Linked DNA regions of Homo sapiens: region 1 is linked to region 2. The links are contacts of gene promoters, found by promoter capture Hi-C in human tissues and cell types (Jung and others, 2019). All regions are on one chromosome and are shown on one strand. The core of a region is centred on a gene start or on the middle of the fragment in contact, and the rest is flanking DNA. Distances in the headings are between cores, read along the strand shown.

What was found. Contacts are between HindIII fragments. The study calls those that stand out against the background at their distance.
Region 1: a fragment that was not itself captured here is called in contact with the fragment with the promoter of TPRX1 in region 2 in 3 of the 25 tissues and cell types used here (dorsolateral prefrontal cortex, lymphoblastoid cells and mesenchymal stem cells).

Annotation. Positions count from the first base shown.
Region 1 is chr19:47,984,587-47,989,054 of GRCh38, reverse strand. All of the region lies in intron 1 of BSPH1 (binder of sperm protein homolog 1), which reads left to right. Among named protein-coding and RNA genes, the nearest start is that of BSPH1, 5.3 kb to the left of the region's middle. The HindIII fragment of the contact is 7,096 bases long and covers 1-4,468 here.
Region 2 is chr19:47,802,609-47,807,531 of GRCh38, reverse strand. It overlaps TPRX1 (tetrapeptide repeat homeobox 1), which reads left to right and starts at 2,981. Exons shown (of 3, transcript NM_001397346.1): 1 at 2,981-3,017; 2 at 3,859-4,028; 3 at 4,552-4,923. The coding sequence starts at 2,993. The HindIII fragment of the contact is 58,136 bases long and covers 1-4,923 here.

The DNA.
Region 1 (4,468 bases), core at 1,336-3,835, 180 kb before region 2:
CATCTCCACTCATGAGCATGTGATATGCACCCCCACCTCTTCCCACTAGTGCACGATCTAGTGGGAAGACAGAAGAGGAAACAGACCATGTGTATGGCACATGCTAAATCAGCTATACGCCTAGCCTGAAAAAGAAAAAATAATTGAATTGGCAAGACTTCACAAAGGACTTGATTGAGTGATCTTGTTCCAGGGCTAGGAATTTGCCATGTCCAACATGTAATTACTATTCCAACTTGATGGGTTGCCTAAGGGATTACATGGGAGTGGGGTCCCTTGCGGGGAGAACTGTCCAGGTGTGTAGACCCGGACATGCTTCGTGCACCCAGAACTCTGGGGTTTTCACTTTTGCCAGTTCAGGCTTTGGTGCGGTAGGACTGCCCACCAACCGATCGTTTGATGTCAACAAACGTTTGTGCTAAAATGTGAATCTTGCATTGCAAGAGCCATTATTATTTAAAGAGGATGAGGAGGAACCATGGCTAAGAGCTCTCATGCACCCCCACTCACCAAGAACTGAAGGCTCCTCTCGCCTCCTCTGTCCCACTCAACTCTGCTCCTGGCAAGCTCAGGAGACCAGTTTTCCCTCCAGCATCTCCGGGTTCCAACCAAGCTTAGCCTGTGGCCTCAAGCAAGACTTTGAGTCCTGGATGTCTGTGAGTTCCCACATCTGAAACAGGAGGATCGTGATTCTTGCTGACTCCCAGGGTTGCTGGAAGATTAAATGGGTTAGCATGCGTGACGCTCAGAACAGAACTGTTATCATTAAGTCATTATTACTACTATTATAGTACCAAAAGTACTATTACAGTATTAAAGAGGCAGGATAAGGGTTTGGATTTAGTAGTCGATACTCACAGAGTGAGTTTAACTACTTTAAACTTCTCATACAAGTGGAATCGTGCAATATTTGTCCTTCTGTGAATGGTTTGGTTCACTTAGCATAATGTCCTCCAGGTTCATCCATGTTACTGAAAACGGCAGGATTTTCTCTTTTTTTAATTTTTAAAATTTTTCTGATTTTGTAATTTTTATTTTTATTTTATTTTATTTGTTTTTGAGACAAGGGCTCACTCTGTCACCCAGGCTGGAGTGCAGTGGTGTGATCTCAGCACACTGCAACCTCCGCCTCCCGGGACTGAAGTAATTAATCCTCCAACTCAGCCTCCCAGTACGGGAACCACAGGAGCACACCACCATGCCCAGCTAATTTTTTTGTAATTTTGGTAGAGATAAGATTTCGCCAAGTTGCCCAGGCAGGTCTCAAACTCCTGAGCTCAAGCGATCTGCCCACCTCCGCCTTCCAAAGTGCTGTGAGCCACCACACCCAGCCCTGCCTAAAGGTTCTTTGATCAAGGTTGTTTTGACCTAAGGGCAGGATCAATAGTAAAGACAAGCTCTGGCCATGCATAGTTCAAGGTGGGAGGATTGCTTGAGCCCAGGAATTCGAGACCAGCCTGGGAAACATAGTGGGACCTAGTCTCTACAGCAACTTTTGAAAATTAGCCAGCTATGGTAGTGTGTGCCTGTAGTTCCAGCTACTTGGGAGGCTGAGGCAAGAGAATCACTTGAGCCTGGGAAGTCAAGCCTGCAGTGAGCTATGACAGCGCCACTGTACTCCAACCTGGGTGACAGAGTGAGATTCTGTCTCCAAAAAAAAAAAAAAAAAGTAAGTACTAAGTACATGTAGTACGTGTTCTTACACAAAGAACAGTAGATAAAATAGAAATTGTAGGGACATTCCGAGGACGGGGTTAATCAGAAACCAACACGGCGAATTAGCACCCAAGACAGAGGTGTTTTAGCCTCCACAAACTGGATTGTCTAGTGACACTCAAATTCTTCGTCTTCATCCTCACTGTCTGGGGTTGCATTGCATAGTGTCCTTCCAGAATTCATGTTTACCAGAGATCTGTGAATATGACTGTATTTGAAATAGGTCCTTGCAGATGTCGGTAATTAAGATGTAGTCACAATGGATACGGGTTGGCCCTAATCCAATGACTGGTATCTTTATAAGAAGAGGAAACAGACACACACAGGGAAGACAAGCACGCATAGTCACAAGAAAAGATTAAAGTGATGCTGCCACAAGTCACAGAATGCCACAGCTTGCCAGCAGCCACCAAAAGCAAGGAGAGAGGCATGGAATAGTTTCTGCCTCTGAGCTCCTAAGAAGGAACCAACCCTGGCATTTTGGCCTTCTGGCCTCCAGATCTGTGAGACAATAAATGTCTATTGCTCTAGACCAAACAGTCTATGGTACTTTGTCTAGATTTTTTTTATTTTTATTTTATTTTATTTTATTTTTAGATAGGGTCTCATTCTGTCACCCAGGCTGGAGTGCAGTGGCACAATCACGGCTCACTGCAGTCTTGACCTCCCAGGCTCAAGTGATCCTCTTGCCTCAGCCTCCCAAGTAGCTGGGACTACAGGTGCACGCCACCATGCCCAGCTAATTTTTGTGTCTTTATTTATTGCAGAGATGGGGTCTTGCTATGTTGCCCAGGCTGGTCTCGAACTCCTGGGTTCAAGCAGTCCTCCTGGCTCAGCCTCCAAAAGTGCTGGGATTACAAGCGTAAATCACCATGCCTGACCAGTAAAATTCTACAGCACAAAACCAAGGAAGAAGCAATCACAGAGGCCACGCGGCTCTCCTGTCTGGGGGATGAGCCTCCCATGGTTTGGTACCCAAGGACCCCAACTCCTCCCCATTCATTGTTATTGCTCTTCACCAGTGCTCTTCCAGGCCTTCTGACATTCTCTAGATTCGTAAGTTTTGTCTTCTATCTTGTGCTGTATTCCATTGAACATAGAATGGAACAGCAAGTGCAGCACTTTGGGAAGACTCCTGACCCAGCTCTTGAACCCAAACAAGAATCTTGGCCAAGTTAGGATCGTAGGACTACCATGTAGCAGGCTACAGCAATTCCCCACGATAGGGAGGCCACTGCAGCTTTTTTTCCCTAGTCTGTTCGACCAGCTTCCCCAGACTCCTCCCTCCTCTGGGGCTCCGTAGCTTGGAAGAATAAAGTCTGATAAACTATATCCTCCTGCGGGCAACTGCAAGAATGCCAATATATGCTGTTGACGATGCTGAAATTCACTGCTCATCCTCTGGAAAAGTGATCGGGTTCAGGGGACTTCATAAGCTCCTGAACACATTTCACATGCTTTCATTTTATTTACATTCACTTATTCTTTTCCTTTTTTTTTTTTCTAGACAAAGTCTTGCCCTGTCACTCAGGCTGGAGTGTAGTGGTGTGATCTCAGCTCACTGCAACCTCCACGTCCCAGGTTCAAGTGATTCTCCTGCCTCAGCTGCCTCAGTAGCTGGGATTATAGGCGCACACCACCATGCCCAGCTAATTTTTGTATTTTTAGTAGAGACAGGGTTTCACCATGTTGGCCAGGCTGGTCTCGAACTCCTGACCTCAGGTGATCTGCCCGCCTCGGCCTCCCATAGTGCTGGGATTACAGGTGTGAGCCACCATGCCGGGCCTACTTACTCTTTTTCTAATGTGCTTCCTCTCTTTATATCTCTGAAGAACTTTTAACATTTCTTTCAAGGCAGGTTTTCTGGTAGCAAATTCCCTCAATGTTTGTTTGTCTGAGAATCTTTGTCTTTCTTTCTCCTTCACTTCTGAAGAATAATTTTGCAGGGTACAGAATTCTAGATTGAAGACTTTTTTTTCTCTCAACACTGTAAATGCTTCATTCTTATCTTCATGGTTTCTGGAAAGAAGTTGGACATAATTCTTATCTTTGCTTCTCTGTAGGTAAGGTATTTTTCCCCCTCTGGCTTCTTTCAAAAGATTTTTCTTTTAAAAAATTTTATTTTAGATGCAGGAGGTACATGTGCAGATTTGTTACATGAGTATGTTGCATAAATGGTGAGGTTTGGGATTCAATTGAAGCCATTACCCAAATAATGAACATAGTGCCCAGTAGGCAGTTTTCTTTTTCTTTTTCTTTCTTTTTTTTTTTTTTTCAGACAGAGTCTTGTATTGCCCAGACTGGAGTGCAGTGGTGCGATCTTGGCTCACTGCAACCTCTGCCTCCCAGGTTCAAGCGATTCTCCTGCCTCAGCCTCCTGAGTAGCTGGGATTACAGGCGCCCACCACCATGTCCGGCTAATTTTTAGTAGAGACGGGATTTCATCATGTTGGCCAGGCTGGTCTTGAACTCCTGACCTCATGATCAGTCCACCTCAGCTTCCCAAAGTGCTGGGATTACAGGCATGAGCCACTGCACCCGGCCATCAATAGTTGGTTTCCAAGCCTGGGTCCCCTCCTTACCTCCCCACTTTTGTAATCCCCAGTGCCTATTGTTCCCATCTTTGTGTCCCTGTGCACCCAATGTTTAGTTCCCACTTATAAGTGAGAACATGTGGTATTTGGTTTTCTGTTTCTGCACTAATTTGCTTAGGCTAATGGCCTCCAGCTGCATCCATGTTGCTAAAAAGGAC
Region 2 (4,923 bases), core at 1,732-4,231:
CTGGGTGTGGTAACACACACCTGTAATCCCAGCTACTCAGGAGGCTGAGGCATGAGAATCACTTGAACCCAGGAGGCAGAGCTGAGATCAATCCACTGCACTGCAGCCTGGGCAACAGAGACTCTGTCTCAAAACAAATACATAAATAAATTTAATTAAATAAAGTATACAATTCAGGCCGGGCACGCTGGTTCACGCCTGTAATATCAGTACTTTGGGAGGCAAGGTGGGCTGGTTGTTTAAACTCAGGAGTTCGAGACGAGACTGGGCAACACGGCAAAACAAAAAGAAAAGAATAATCATAAAGTACAAAATGAAATGGTTTTGGCCGGGCGCGGTGTTTCACACCTGTAATCCCAGCACTTTGGGAGGCCGAGATGGGTGGATCACTTGAGGTCAGGCATTCGAGGCCAGCCTGGCCAACATGGTGAAACCCATTCTCTACTAAAAATACAAAAAGTTAGCTGGGCGTGGTGGTGCATGCCTGTAATCCCAGCTACTTGGGCGACTGAGGCAGGAGTATCACTTGAACCCGGGAGATGGAGGTTGCAGCAAGCCGAGATCACACCACTACTGCACTCCAGCCTGGGTGACAGGGCAAGACGCCATCTCAAAAAAAAAAAATTAAATCGTCTTTAGTCTGTTTGCAGAGTTGTGCCTCCTTCACTACAGTCAATTTTAGAACATTTTTCACCGTCCCCAATAGCTATCTCCATAGCTATTCCCAGTTGGTCCCAATTTTCCCTTCTCCCCAACCCGTAGCAACCACTAATCTGCTTTCTGTCTCTATGGATTTGCCTATTCTGGACACTTTGTATAAATAGAATCGTATATGTGCTTTTGAGTCTGGCGTCTTTCACTCGGCATCATGTTGGCAAGGTTCATCCATGTTGTAGCACGTATCAGAGCTTTATTCCTTTTCATGGTTGAGTAATATCCCATTGTGTAAATATATGACATTTTGGGTTTCTATTTTTTGTGGGTTTTTTTGGGGGATGTTGTTTTGTTTTTTGAGGCAGAGTCTCCCTCTGTCACCCAGGCTGGAGTTCAGTGGCACCATCTCAGCTCCCTGCAACCTCTGCCTCCCGGGTTCAAGTGATTCTCCTACCTCAGCCTAACAAGTAGCTGGGATTACAGGCTCCCGCCACCATGCTTGGCTAATTTTTTGTATTTTTAGTAGAGACGGATTTTCACCATGTCGACCAAGCTGGCCTCAAACTCCTGACCTCAAGTGATTCGTCCACCTCAGCCTCCCAAAGTGCTGGGATTACAGGCGTGAGCCACCGTGCCCAGCCACTTTTATTTATTTTGAGATGGAGTCTCACTCTGTTGCCCAGGCTGGAGTACAGTGGCACAATCTCCACTCCCTGTAGCCTCCGCCTCCCGGGTTCAACCAATTCCCCCGCCTCAGCCTCCCAAGTAGCTGAAATTCAGGTGCTGGCCACCACGCCCAGCTAATTTTTGTATTTTTAGTAGACAGGGTTTCGCCATGTTGGCCAGGCTGGTCTTAAACTCCTGACCTCAGGTGATCTGCCTGCCTCAGCCTCCCAAAGTGCTGGGATTACAGGCGTGAGCCACCGCGCCTGGCCATGCAGCATTTTATTTATCCATGCATCAGTGGATCGATGTTTTCAGCATTTTCTCCTTTTGGGCGATAGTGAATCATGCTGCCGTGAACTTGCTTATATTTAAATGTCTATTTTCACAAAATAGTACCAGTGAGCTTGTTCATCTGTTTATGTCTTTATTGACCAAATAAATAGCCATGGTGCAAAATCTCTGTGGTCACTACTGTGTTCCCAGCATGTCCTGTAGATGAAGCCGGACAATGTGTGCGATGAGGAATCATTGCTGGGGATGCTGCTTTCTACAGCAGAACTCTAAGTAGCAGGTGAAAACAATGAGCGAGGCCCGTGGTAACAATGTCTACGTTTTATTGAATTTTGAAATTGATTGCATGAGTCATTTCTAGTTCCCTGCACCATGAGCCTTGTCAATCTCTCTAATCCCTGAACCCACGTGGGTCCTGCCATGGGGAAATGAGGACAGCCAGGTGTCTGACAGAGAAGACGCATCTCTGAGGGATCCGATCTCTGTAGACCAAGGTCATGGGTCCCCTGTATCATCAGCAGTAGGTTCATTCACTCACAAGGGCAGACCAGCAGCGGTCCATGGGCACGTCCATCAGACCTGTGCCCCCTCCTGATACAGGTCTATGCAGCTTGGAGAGGCTGGGCTCATGTGAACCCAGCACACGAGCCCCGTATATAAACTGGAATAAACCAGCACTGAGGTCATTTACTCTCCAGGAGAAACCAACAGAGGTCTATGTGAATGCCTATCAGAACTTCACCCCATAGGCAAATCCACTACAGAAACCAAACCATTATCAGCAGGGCCAATGTGTACTAAGCTCTGCTTACACCTATAGGCACCTAGGGAGCAATTTTTGGAATGGATAGTAGGGGCCAGAGTGGCCTTGAGGTACCAAAGAGGAGGTTGCAAGGTCATCCAGGAAGGAGGGATAGTGGCTGGACAAGGCAGGCAGCCCAGGAGCCAGGAGGAGTGGGTAGACTCACCGGCATTGGTCACTCGGGGCCCCAGCCCTGGGAAGGAACAAGGATGACTCCTGGGGGCTGGCTGGCGGTGCCTCTCCTGAGATGGGGACCCCAACCACAGGTCACGATGTTGACTCCCCCAACCAAACCCGCATGGAATGCCACCTCACCTGGGCTAGGGCCCATGAGGGTGAAACCAAGGCTGTGTTGTCCACTGAGGTTCTCCAGCTCCTAGCACAGCTCAGCAGGCAGTACCTGATCAGTGATGAAGGATTAATCCATCATTCAACTCCTCCAGGGGGCGGGACTGCAGGGCAGGGTGGGAAAGGGAGGGTCCCGGCAGGGTGGGCCAGGGTGGGCACAGCAGAGAAGTGATTTAAGAGCCAAGCCCTTGTCAGTACACACTTGTGTTTGGGAACAGATCAGGACTCAGGATGCAAGACCCTGGTCATCTCCAAGGTGAGCGGGGACAGAGGTGTGAGGGGTCTGGGCTGATCCTGTGGCTGAGGCTGCAGAGTGCAAATCTGGGCAGCCAGAGAAGGGCTGGGCCTGTGCGGGCGGCTTCCTGTCCTGCAGACGGGGGAGAACTTAGTGGTGTCTGGGAAATGAAAAATCATGCAGCTGGGTGTAGCGTCTCACGCCTGTGATCCCAGCTCTTTGGGAAGCCAAGGTGGGAGGATCACTTGAGCCCGGGACTCTGAAACCAGCCGAGCCAACATAGTGGAGACCCGTCTTTAGCAAAAATACAAAAATTACCCAGGGGTCGTGGTGCACACCTGTGGTCCCAGCTACTCGGGAGACTAAGGCGGGGGGTTCCTTGAGCCCAGGAAGTGGAGGCTGACTTGAGCCGTGATCACATCACTGCACTCCAGCCTGGGTGACAGAGCGAGATCCCCTCCAAGAAAAAGAAAGAAGGAAAGAAATTAAACCATGCAGTTGAGTGGAGCAGAGGACTGGGCAGGTGGCGGCTCCCCTGCAAGTGTCAGGGTCCCTATAACCCTTGGATGGGAGGGGACGGGGCAGCTGGGGAGGGTTGAGCAGGCCTGAGGCAGCCCCGTCTGCTCCGAGGTGAGGCGCCTACGCTGCCTGCCTTCCCAGGAGCTGTTATCGCGCCTATTTCCTAGATGTGGACCCTGAGGCCCAGAGAGGTGCAAGGTCTGGTCTGGATACCAGGCTGCTATCCGCGGTGCCGCCCCAGCCCACACTGCCTGGGCTCCTGGCCTGGTGCAGGGGACGGGGTCCCTAGGGGGGCTGGGGGCTGCCTGGGGGTTTCTGTGACCTGTTTCCCTCCCACCCCCAGGCCCTCCCCTGGCCCTGGACCCTCCAAGGAGACAGCGGCAGGAGCGCACGGTCTACACTGAAAGCCAGCAGAAAGTGCTAGAATTTTACTTTCAGAAGGACCAGTACCCGAACTACGACCAGCGACTGAATCTGGCGGAGATGCTCAGCCTCAGGGAGCAACAGCTGCAGGTCTGACCCCCACCCCCACCCTGCCCGCCCCAGTCACCCCAAGGAGCCTCCCCACCGCTGTCACTCACCGGGGCCTGGCCCGCCCGACCACCTCCCGCCCTGCCACGCAAGGGGTCCCGCCAGTGTAGACCAGGGCTGCATCCTGAGTCCTGTTCCAACTCTATGCTAGCCCAAACTCGCCCACATGATCGGCCCAGGCTGTCCCCCACGGGGTCTCCCGGTGCCCGGACCTCAGGCACCCGTGAGAACCCGCGGTCCCTCCCCTCGAACCCTCCCTGGCCCCCCGGGCACCTGGGCGGCAGACCCCGCTCCTCCCATCCCACCCCACCCTCCTCCCCCTACTTTTCCCTCCCTCTTCCCTCCATTCTCCAGGCCTTGGAGCCGGGGCCCTCTTTTGGTGGGGTGGGGGATGGGGGGCTGTTGAGCACAGGGAGAGGCTTCAGGCTGGCCCCGACCCCAAAAGGCTCACTGGGCCGCGCGAGCCCCTCCTTCACACCTTCTCCCTGTCCCCTCTGCCCCCCAGGTGTGGTTCAAGAATCGCCGCGCCAAACTAGCTCGGGAGCGGCGGCTCCAGCAGCAGCCCCAGCGCGTCCCTGGGCAGAGAGGCCGAGGAGCCCGCGCTGCGCCCCTAGTCCCTGCAGCCTCTGCCTCCGCACCTCAGCGGGGCCCCTCGGGAATCCTTCCAGCGGCGGAACCCACGATCTGCAGCCTCCACCAGGCCTGGGGTGGCCCTGGGTGCAGAGCCCAGAAGGGCATCCCAGCTGCCCTGAGTCCAGGCCCTGGCCCGATCCCTGCCCCAATCCCAGGCCCAGCCCAGATCCCAGGCCCACTCCCTGGCTCAATTCCAGGCCCAATTCCAGGCCCAGCTCAGATCCCAAGCCCGATCCCAGCCCCA